2 separate regions of the Homo sapiens genome follow, and region 2 is linked to region 1. Evidence: promoter capture Hi-C in 16 types of primary human blood cells and fetal thymus (Javierre and others, 2016). All regions are on one chromosome and are shown on one strand. The core of a region is centred on a gene start or on the middle of the fragment in contact, and the rest is flanking DNA. Distances in the headings are between cores, read along the strand shown.

Region 1 (4,575 bases), core at 1,754-4,253:
GCTCACATTACACTGAAGTGTCGTCAGCAGGGTTGCCTGAATTTATGAAAGCTAGGAAGGGTTAGGTCCAGGCTAGTGGGCAACTAAGCTGGGGTTACTACCTTGGCAACACTGCCCTCATAGGCAGCTCGAAGGCGGCCTTGCAGAGCTGGTGAGAAGCACAGCAGCCGCTCATTCTCAGCCAGCAGCTTCAAGGTCCCTTTGTCCAGGTTGGAAAGAACCCTGCAGGGACAAGAGCACCTATGACTGAGACCAGAACACAGACTGCAAGTAGGAAGCAAGCACCTGCACACCACAGAGGATCTCTAAGGCATGGCGCAGGTATGCAAGCCCAGATATGTACTGCAAGGTCATGGGCCAAGGATCAAAGATAATGAAAGTCAAGGGGAGGATATGAGACTTTACAGAGCAAGGACCAAGACAGCAGGACAGGAACATTACCCAGAAACCAAAGCTCAGCTGCCAAGACCACAGGGGTCCATTTCTTTTTCTTTTTTTTTGAGATGGGGGTCTCTGTCACCCAGGCTGGGCTGGGCGTCACCCAGGCTGCAGTGGCGTGATCTCACTACAGCCTGGACCTCCCAGGCTCAGGAGATCCTTCCACCTCAGCCTCCTAAGTAGCTGGGATTATAGGCGCACTCCCCCACACCCGGCCTTTTTTTTTTTTTTTTTTTGGTGGAGATGGGATTTTGTCATGTTGCCCAGGCTGGTCTAAAACTCCTGGGCCTAAGTCACTGTCCTGCCTCGGCCTCTCAAAGTGGTGGGAATGCAGGCGTGAGCCACCACACCTGGCCCGATCTCAATTCTTTCAGGGACTACATTCATAGCCTTAACACAAAATTAAAGAAAGATTATAGGTAGGAGAAGGTCCAGGACCACTGCCCCTGTGTTAAGCACCAGCATATATCCCAAGCAGCCAGAGAGCTAAGCAGATGATGAGAATGAGGCCCAAATGCCTCAGCCAGGGAAACTCACTGAAAGTGACACTCCAAAACCTGCACTGCAAAGAAGACACAATCGTGGATGCTTTGGAACAGTGGACTTTCCAGGGAATCTAGAAGGACAGTACCAAGCTGTCAGTTAAGAACGGTCCCGTTTCTAGACCCCATGTCTCAAAAGGAGGCTTGCTCACTGACCTAGGACAGCTGGACTTAGTTCAGGGTCGCTGTCCTTGGCAGTCACCATCCTCCGGGCAGTGAGGAGCTGAAAGACGAAGAAAAGCTCCAAGAAGAGGTTTGGTACCAGGTTCTCTAGATAGATACAAAAAGAAAGCCCATGGTATGGGCACCATTTGGAGCCAAGGCTCAGTTCCAAGTGCCTTACCAATTCTCTTACCCATAAGTTCTACAAGTGTCTCCACTCCCGCTCCCTCCGCTCTCACTCACCAGCAATGCACGAGGAGTAAACAAGGGCTACAAGCTCCAGGCGCTGGCGGGAAGACACTCTGGCAGGGTCTGCAGGTTCATCTGTGAGGCTTCCTGTCCGGCTGGGGAGGGGCGACCCCAATTCTGGGGTGGGACAGGTGGGGGTAGGTGACTGCTGCAGCTGCTTAGAGCTATGGAATAAAGAAATTTCATGAGCAGTCAGCTTGGCTTCCCTGCTACGGCCACACTCAGGTCACTCCAGAGAAGATACCAACAGCCCAGGAGACAAACCCAGAGTCCCCAAGAGGGAAATCAATTTCAGGGAAAACCCCTGAAGATCCCCCACAGCGAGGAAACCGATATCCCCAGGAGCGGCCAGGCCATACCGCTCCTTCCTGAGCATCTCTCGCTCCTCTTGCAGACTTCTGCACCCTGGGGGAAGGCCAAGGCCCCAAGGGCTAGTGTCCAGGGCTGAGGGTTGGGAACTGGGGACACAGCTGATTGGGGGTGAGGTGAAGCAGGTCTTGGGCTTGGAGAGTGACCGCTCTTCGCTCACCGGAGTTGGGTTGATCCTGCGAGAAGGCTTCGTCCTGCTGAGAGTAGCCACAGGTTTTTCTCAAATTCCTATCTTCAAACATCTCCCCTCCACCACCGCAACAGCTAGACCTCTTGCCAAAAAACCCCACAAAAACCCTCACCATCACCCCCAGCCTTCTACCCATCCTGGCGCTCCACTGCGGAGCGCCGAGCTCGAATGACTGACTCCCCAGAGCCTTCGTGGTACCCATCTCCTGCATGAGAGCTGAGTCTCACCCTGTAGGGCCGGGGGGAACCGAGCCTACGGGAGGGAACTCCTCCAGGTTGCTGAGGTTTGGCGGATCAGACAGCGTGAGGCTGGGGCGGCTGGGGCTGCCAGAGCCCCTAAGCCTCCGGCCCCCGGCTCCGGGCAGGCTCTCCCCGCTGACCCCCTCCTCCAGGCCGCGGCCTCCACGCTCGCGGGCCGGCCCCGGGCCCCGCCTCCTGCCCCCGCGGCGGGCCAGAGGGGCCTCGGCAGCGGTGCTCTGGGCCTCGGTCGGAGGGAAAAGCTGGCTGCGCGCCCCGCGGCTACCCCGCGGCGGGCCTCCCGGCCTCCCTGGCAAGGCTGCCGAGGCGCCCGGGGTCTTGGCGGGGGTCGGGGGCCCCTGCGGGAGGACGCGGCTGCTCTGCTCCCTCAGGAAGTTCAACAGGAACGGTACGAATTCTTTCCGCAGGGCCCGGAGTGAGCTCAGCGCGGCCGCCTCCCCAGCGTTATCCTAGGGCAGAAGCACAGGTGGAGGGGCGAGAGGGTCAGCCGCCGGCCCGCGGGCCGTGAGCAGCCGGGGCCGTAGGGCGCGCCTCGGGTGGGCGGCCCGGGCAGCGGCGCCCAGTTGGAGTGCACTCGGCCCGGCTGGCAGCCAGGCGCCCTAGAGGAAGGGGACTGGAGGGCTGGACTCCACTGCGGGAACCGGCTTCGAGTCAGACCTGGGGGCGTGTCACCGCTGTTACCTCCGAACCCTGGGTGCTGCGCGCGATCCACCGCACGACGGCTGCGACCGACACCTCTTCTCGCAGCAGCGACTCCAAAACGGCCGCCATCCCGGTCGGGGCGCTCTGGGGCGACTGCGCAGGCGCCGGCGCGCCGCGGGCGGCCAGGGAGGGGCGGGGCCGGCGGCGGGGAACGACCGTTGGGTCGCGGGATGGGGAGGGACCCGGCTGGCGGGGCGGGGCGGAGCCGGCTGTTGCCCAGACCCACGGAGTCAAGGCCTCGCTGAGTCCTCAACCCCGGCCGAGAGGCCGGTTGTTAGGAGGTGAAATGTGGATCACAGCGCCTGGGGAGGCCCACCTTGGCTGCCCGCCCTGGAGCGACCTGAAGGGAGGGATTCGAGCTGGGAGTGGGGCTGCCGCGGGTCGGACGCCCCTCTAGGGAGACCCAGGACCCGGGAGAGAGGTAGAGGGGAGCAGAGACAGCCACCAGCTTCTATCTTCTGCTCTAAGCACATTCTTTCACGAGTTTAAGTTTCCTAGATCCAACTGGCACCACCCCAGAGAAATTATAATCTAATCTTTCATTTTGACTTTGTTCTTCTCAAAGGCCGATTTTTCAATCCCTTGGCCGAGCAGTACCCATCGGCTTTTCAGCGCTCACCATCAACTGACCATTTAGGAAAGAATTATTTCTAGGAGGTTCTTAATAATCCCCAAGCCACAACCCTTAAAGTGCCTCGGGCCACCCTGCACACAGAATTGCTTGTATGTAGCTTTATTTACTTAAGTGGGTTTACATGAGGTTAATATTTCAACTACTTTGCAGTTTAGATGTCAGTAAGCATATCATGATTAGCTTCTGGGAGCTTGAGGTTTGTATTTTTGGGTTTGGTGTTTTTTGTTTTTGTTTTGTTTTTTTTGAGACAGGGTCTTGCTCTGTTGCCCAGGCTGGAGTGCAGTGGCGTGAGCACGGCTCACTGCAGCCTTGGCCTCCTGGGCTCAAGCAATCCTCCCGACTCAGCCTCCCTAGGGCTATAGCCCAGCTAATGTTTTGGCCGGGAGAGGGCAGCAGATCCAAAGTGCTGGGATTATAGGCGTGGGCCACCACGCCCGGCCTGAGTAATTTCTTAATCTCCTTTATTTAATTTTATTTTGAGATGGAGTCTCGCTCTGTCACCCCCGGGGCTGGAATGCAGTGGGAGGCAGAGGTGGGCGGATCACGAGGTCGAGAGATGGAGACCATCCTGGCCAACATGGTGAAACCGTGTCTCTAATAAAAATACAAAAATTAACTGGGCGTGGTGGCACGCGCCTGTAGTCCTAGCTACTGGGGAGGCTGAGGCAGGAGAATCGCTTGAACCTGGGAGGCGGAGGTTGCAGTGATCCAAGATCACGCCACTGCACTCCAGCCTGGGTGACAGAGCGAGACTCCATCTCAAAAACAAAACAAAACAAAAAAACCTGAGAGAGGATTTTGAAGGTTGCTGCTCAGTGACAAATCAAGCAAGGGAATCCAAGCGGAGAAAAACAGATGGCACGAACATTCCATGTCAAACCAAACCAGGAGGGGTGAGGCAGTGCCCTTGTGAATGCCTCCTGAGAGTTGCTCTGGTTCAAAGGAAGGTTACGGGCGGAAGGATGAGGGTGGGGGTGCAGGAATCTCTCTAGTGGCAGAAGGGGTATTTCCTATGGAGAAGGAAAAAGTACC
Region 2 (4,493 bases), core at 1,647-4,146, 450 kb after region 1:
GCAATGGCATCGTCTCGGCTCACTGCAACCTCTGCCTCCCTAATTCAAGTGATTCTCCTGCCTCAGCCTCCCATGTAGCTGGGGTTACAGGTGCCTGCCACCATGCCCGGCTAATTTTTGTATTTTTAGTAGAGACAGGGTTTCACTGTGTTGGCCAGGATGGTCTCGAACTCCTGACCTCAGGTGATCCGCCCGTCTCGGCCTCCCAAAGTGCTGGGATTACAGGCGTGAGCCACTGCACCCAGCCTCATTGCAGTTTTCTATTATGTTGATGGAGGCTGTCTCTAAGGAGCTCTCTCATACCAAATGAATCCTGAGCCTTACCAAAAGGCAGGGTTTTTTCCTTTGTAAATGTTTACATTCATATTCTAATAAATAGTACACTAATAATGGATTTTATGTATCATCCAGACCCATGAATCCCAAATCTATATCTCTGATCTAGACCTCTTCTCTGCACTTCAAGTGCCTCTATATCCAATGGCCACAGATGTCTAACAGGCATCTCAACTTCATGTGATGTCTCTCTGATAGGAACATTATTTCCACCCCAAACCTGTTCCTCTCTGTTTTTCCAGTTTTAATAAATGACTCCACCATTCACCTGATTTCTCCAAGATGTATCCTCAATTATTCCCTTTCCTTCATACCCTGTATCTATTTCACCAGCAAGCTCTACCTTATTTGATCTGCTTCCAATGCATATCTTGAATCCATCCACTTCTCTCCATTTCTGTTTTCCTAATCTAAGTTGTAATTATTTCTTGCCTGGGTCTTCTCCCTGATATTCTTGCCTCCTTACTCTCAGCTTAATACAGAGCATCCAGTGTGCTCTTTTAAAAACTTTACAATCAGCTCACTTACTTTTCAGCTTGAAATGCTTTGAAGCAGAGCAGTGATCTGGGTCCTGCCGACTGCCCCAATTTCCACCTGGCTCATGCTCTGCATGCACTTCCTTAAAGAGGCCAAGACCTCTCCCACCTCTGGGCTTTTCATTTGTTCCTTCTGCCTAGAATGCACTTCCCTCCGCTGATTCATTCTTGTCCTTCTGGCCTCTGAGAGCCTTTCTCCCAGTTACCTTCTCATGACCCAGTTCTTTCCTTCATTGAACTAATCACGATCTGTAATTATATTTTTTGGTTTTTTTTTTTGTCTGTCTTCTCCCTGTTAGAATGTAAGCTCTATGACGGACCTTTTCTAACTTGTTTGCCATTGTGTCCCCAACTTGGAGCCTAGCTCATGCCTGCTACATAATGGGTGCTCAATAAATATTTGTTAAATGAATGAATCATACAGCAGCTCAACTTGGATTATAATTTAGATACTCTAATTTATATTCCAGTACTTATCATGCTACCTCAAACAAAAATGGAGGTAAGAAAAAAAATACTGATAGCCAAGTCCTCCCCTCACTCCACCAAAAAAGAGGGGTTGTTGTATGTGTGTGTATACATTTACTCAGTTCAATTCCAGCTTAACACCATTGGGTATTAACTGTGTATATGATACTGTACTACAAGTTGGGACTTCAGCATAAATTAAATGATACCTGCCTCTAAGATGAATAAAAGGACATGGGCAAATACACAACTAGCCACAAGTCAGCTGTTGTGTTATAAGCAACTGTGCTTGAAGTAAATTAGCTAACGCCAAGACAGATAGCAGCATAGTCTTAGGATCCACTAATAATGCATTATTAAGACCAAACTCTTCCAAGGACTTGGGAGTAAGCTATGGTTCTGTTCTTTTCCAGCTGGCGTTTTTTAACATCCCCTTGATGGCTTACATGTGTTGGAGCTTGCTGCAGCGGTGCTTTGGTCACAACTTCAGGTCTCATCTCCATCAAAGAAAATACTTGAAAATTATGCCTGTTCACCTACTTATGCTACTGCTGTACATCTGGCAGGTTTATTCCTGCTACTTTCTTTATGCAACATACGGCACCCTAGCTTTTTTATTCTCCCCTTTGCGGACCTGGTTGACACTGCTGACACCTGTTCTCATTCGTTATGTGTGGACACTGAACTCCACCAAGTTTGGAATCTTCATGGTGCAGTTAAAAAGCCACCTGAGCTCCTGAAGGCCATGTCTCACCACTGGCAGCTGGGCAGAAGCCCAGCCTCTGTGTCTGTAGCCCAGGCCTCTACCCCAGTAGCAGGTGGAGGGCCAGGATTGGTGGGTGAGCTTTAGGGAGCAGCTGCTCGTTTGGAGTCCTGGACGTTGGAGGGATTACCCACTACTGATACCTGCAGAATGGACTGCAGAAAAGTCTCAAAAATAATGCCTTTATTCCTTCCCTCCCTAAGGAGGCAAAGAGTTGATTTACCTTTGTGAAGAGAAAACCCTTATCTAGGACATCCACAGGGTAGAGGTTGGGTGTGTGTACGGGAGTGTCTGAGGCCCAGTGTGTTTTTTAGGGTTACCCCATGTAAAGCACTTACCGCTGTGCTTGGAATTCAGCAGCTGTCAAAGGTGCAATTTCAGGGGCAGGGAACCTTTGAGGATCTGGGCCCGACCCTCACTACCCCTGAGATATTAGTTCCCAGGCCTGTTTTCCCACAGGATTGTGGGCTCTCTGCTTCCTTAGTCGGAAGTGTTTTCAACTAATCAAATAAATGAATGAATGATGAATAAGAAAGACGGTGAGCCTGAGGCTTGCTTGTGTAGCCTGGCCTAAGGGGCAAGAGAAGGCGTGGCCTGTCCTGGCCTCTGAGAGTGGGATGGTTGGTGCTGTACCTCAGGGGACAGGGCGGGGCGGGAGGAGGCGGGGCCAGGCCTGGTCTCTGATAACGGGATGGGTGGTGCTGGACCTCGGGCGGGGCCGGGCCTCGTGGCGGGAGGAGGCAGGGCAGGGCCTCTGGGACGGGGCTGGACGGCTTGTTGACGGAAACGAGCCCTTGACGCTGTGGCCCGGAAGTGGAGCGGCTGTCGCAGTGCGGCTCCGGCAGTGGCAGCGGAGGCCTGTGTTTGCGGCCTTCGGCAAGCGACTGAGATGGCGAGCGCAACTGCACCTGCAGCCGCAGTCCCCACCCTGGCTTCGCCTTTGGAGCAGCTCCGGCACTTGGCGGAGGAGCTGCGGTTGCTCCTGCCTCGAGTGCGGGGTGAGCTGACGGAGTTAGAACGGGCGACGGCAGGGGCGGGCTCGGGGTCGGGGAGAGGCCGGGCTCGGGGTCGGGGAGAGGCCGGGCTCGGGGTCGCGGAGAGGGCGGGCTGGGGCGGCGGCGGGGAGCCGGGCTTGGGCGAGGGAGGTGGCTCCGCTTACCTCAGCTTTTCCATTCGCCACCGTTCGGCCCCCACACGCCACACCCACAAGTCGGCGAAGCCCAGGAGACCACCGAGGAGTTTAATCGAGAGATGTTCTGGAGAAGACTCAGTGAGTGCGCCTCCTTCCGGGCTCCCCTTGCCTCAGTTCCTCCAGCGTCCCGACCCCTTTTCCTCCCGCTGTCCCCCACGGAGGGGACTGCTCTCCCCCGCTGCATCCTTTCTGTGAGGTACCTTACCCACCTCAGCACCTGAGAGGGTGAAATAGAATTCTAACCTCGACATTCGGGAAGTGTTTTTGAGAAGTCTCGGTCGGTAAGGGAAGTCTTCCAAGTCCGTGCAGCACTAACGTATTGGCACCTGCCTCCTCTTCGGCCACCCCCCAGATGAGGCAGCTGTGACTGTGTCAAGGGAAGCCACGACTCTGACCATAGTCTTCTCTCAGCTTCCACTGCCGTCTCCACAGGTGGGCTTCACTTTCGTGGAATCCTTGGGCTGCCGAGTTACACCTTAGGAATCCTCTAATTTTCTTTCCACCTTTTGCACGCACGCCAGGAGATTTCTTTTCTTCATCTGTCCAGTGAGGTTACCGTTTTTACTTCACAGGATTGTTGTGAAGACCGAATTGCCAAGTGCAGTTCCTGGCGCGGAGTAGGCAGGTCTTATAAATATTGGTTCAGTCTGAAGTTTATCCTGGTTGTTTCCCTTCTGATAATTTTTTAAGCACTTTTTATTTGCTGGGTGTTTTCACATACTTGATGGCCATCTGACAGATGAGCAAGGAGGCTCAGAAGCTCAGCTTAAGATTTAAAAAAAAGCAGGGGGGCTAGAATTTAAATCAAGGTCTATCTGATGTCTAAGCTACCTATTCTGTTATACTGCATAATACCCTTTTTATATTATTTTTTATATTTAATCAGTAACATATGTAGATAGTACAAAATTCAACAGATATCAAAGTGTGTTAAGTTTACCTTTCCACCCACTTTCTCATTTTTGTCTCCCCCAGTTCCTTTTGCATTATTCCACGTATATTCTGTGCATATATACATTCATATACATTTATCTGTATGTGTCAGCTTCTTTTTACACAAATGATACATAAACACTGTTCTGGACCTTCCAACTTAGAATTACTGCAAACAGTGTCGTGATGAATTACCTAATTCTGTGTATGTGTGTATATTGGTAGAAAAAATTCCCGGAAGTAGAATTGCTAGAACAAAGATTTA

Evidence for each region. The method cuts DNA at HindIII sites, captures the fragments that hold promoters and counts their contacts. A CHiCAGO score of 5 or more calls a contact.
Region 2: a contact is called between the fragment with the promoter of CCNDBP1 here and the fragment with the promoter of CDAN1 in region 1, in 1 of 17 cell types (fetal thymus). The highest score is 6.4, in fetal thymus.

The regions. Positions count from the first base shown.
Region 1 is chr15:42,734,125-42,738,699 of GRCh38, forward strand. It overlaps CDAN1 (codanin 1), which reads right to left and starts at 3,004. Exons shown (of 28, transcript NM_138477.4): 1 at 2,889-3,004; 2 at 2,178-2,656; 3 at 1,751-1,954; 4 at 1,386-1,555; 5 at 1,137-1,250; 6 at 976-1,054; 7 at 102-222. The coding sequence starts at 2,978. RefSeq lists silencers at 2,231-2,520, 2,611-2,750, 2,941-3,190. The HindIII fragment of the contact is 7,008 bases long and covers 1-4,575 here.
Region 2 is chr15:43,182,507-43,186,999 of GRCh38, forward strand. CCNDBP1 (cyclin D1 binding protein 1) reads left to right here and starts at 2,897. Exons shown (of 11, transcript NM_012142.5): 1 at 2,897-3,101; 2 at 3,314-3,373; 3 at 3,648-3,727. The coding sequence starts at 2,993. TMEM62 (transmembrane protein 62) reads left to right here. Exons shown (of 14, transcript NM_024956.4): 14 at 1,754-2,638. The coding sequence ends at 2,080. LOC124903478 (a long non-coding RNA gene) reads right to left here and starts at 3,381. Exons shown (of 2, transcript XR_007064604.1): 1 at 3,263-3,381. RefSeq lists silencers at 2,623-2,922, 3,143-3,232 and an enhancer at 3,403-3,502. The HindIII fragment of the contact is 8,824 bases long and covers 1-4,493 here.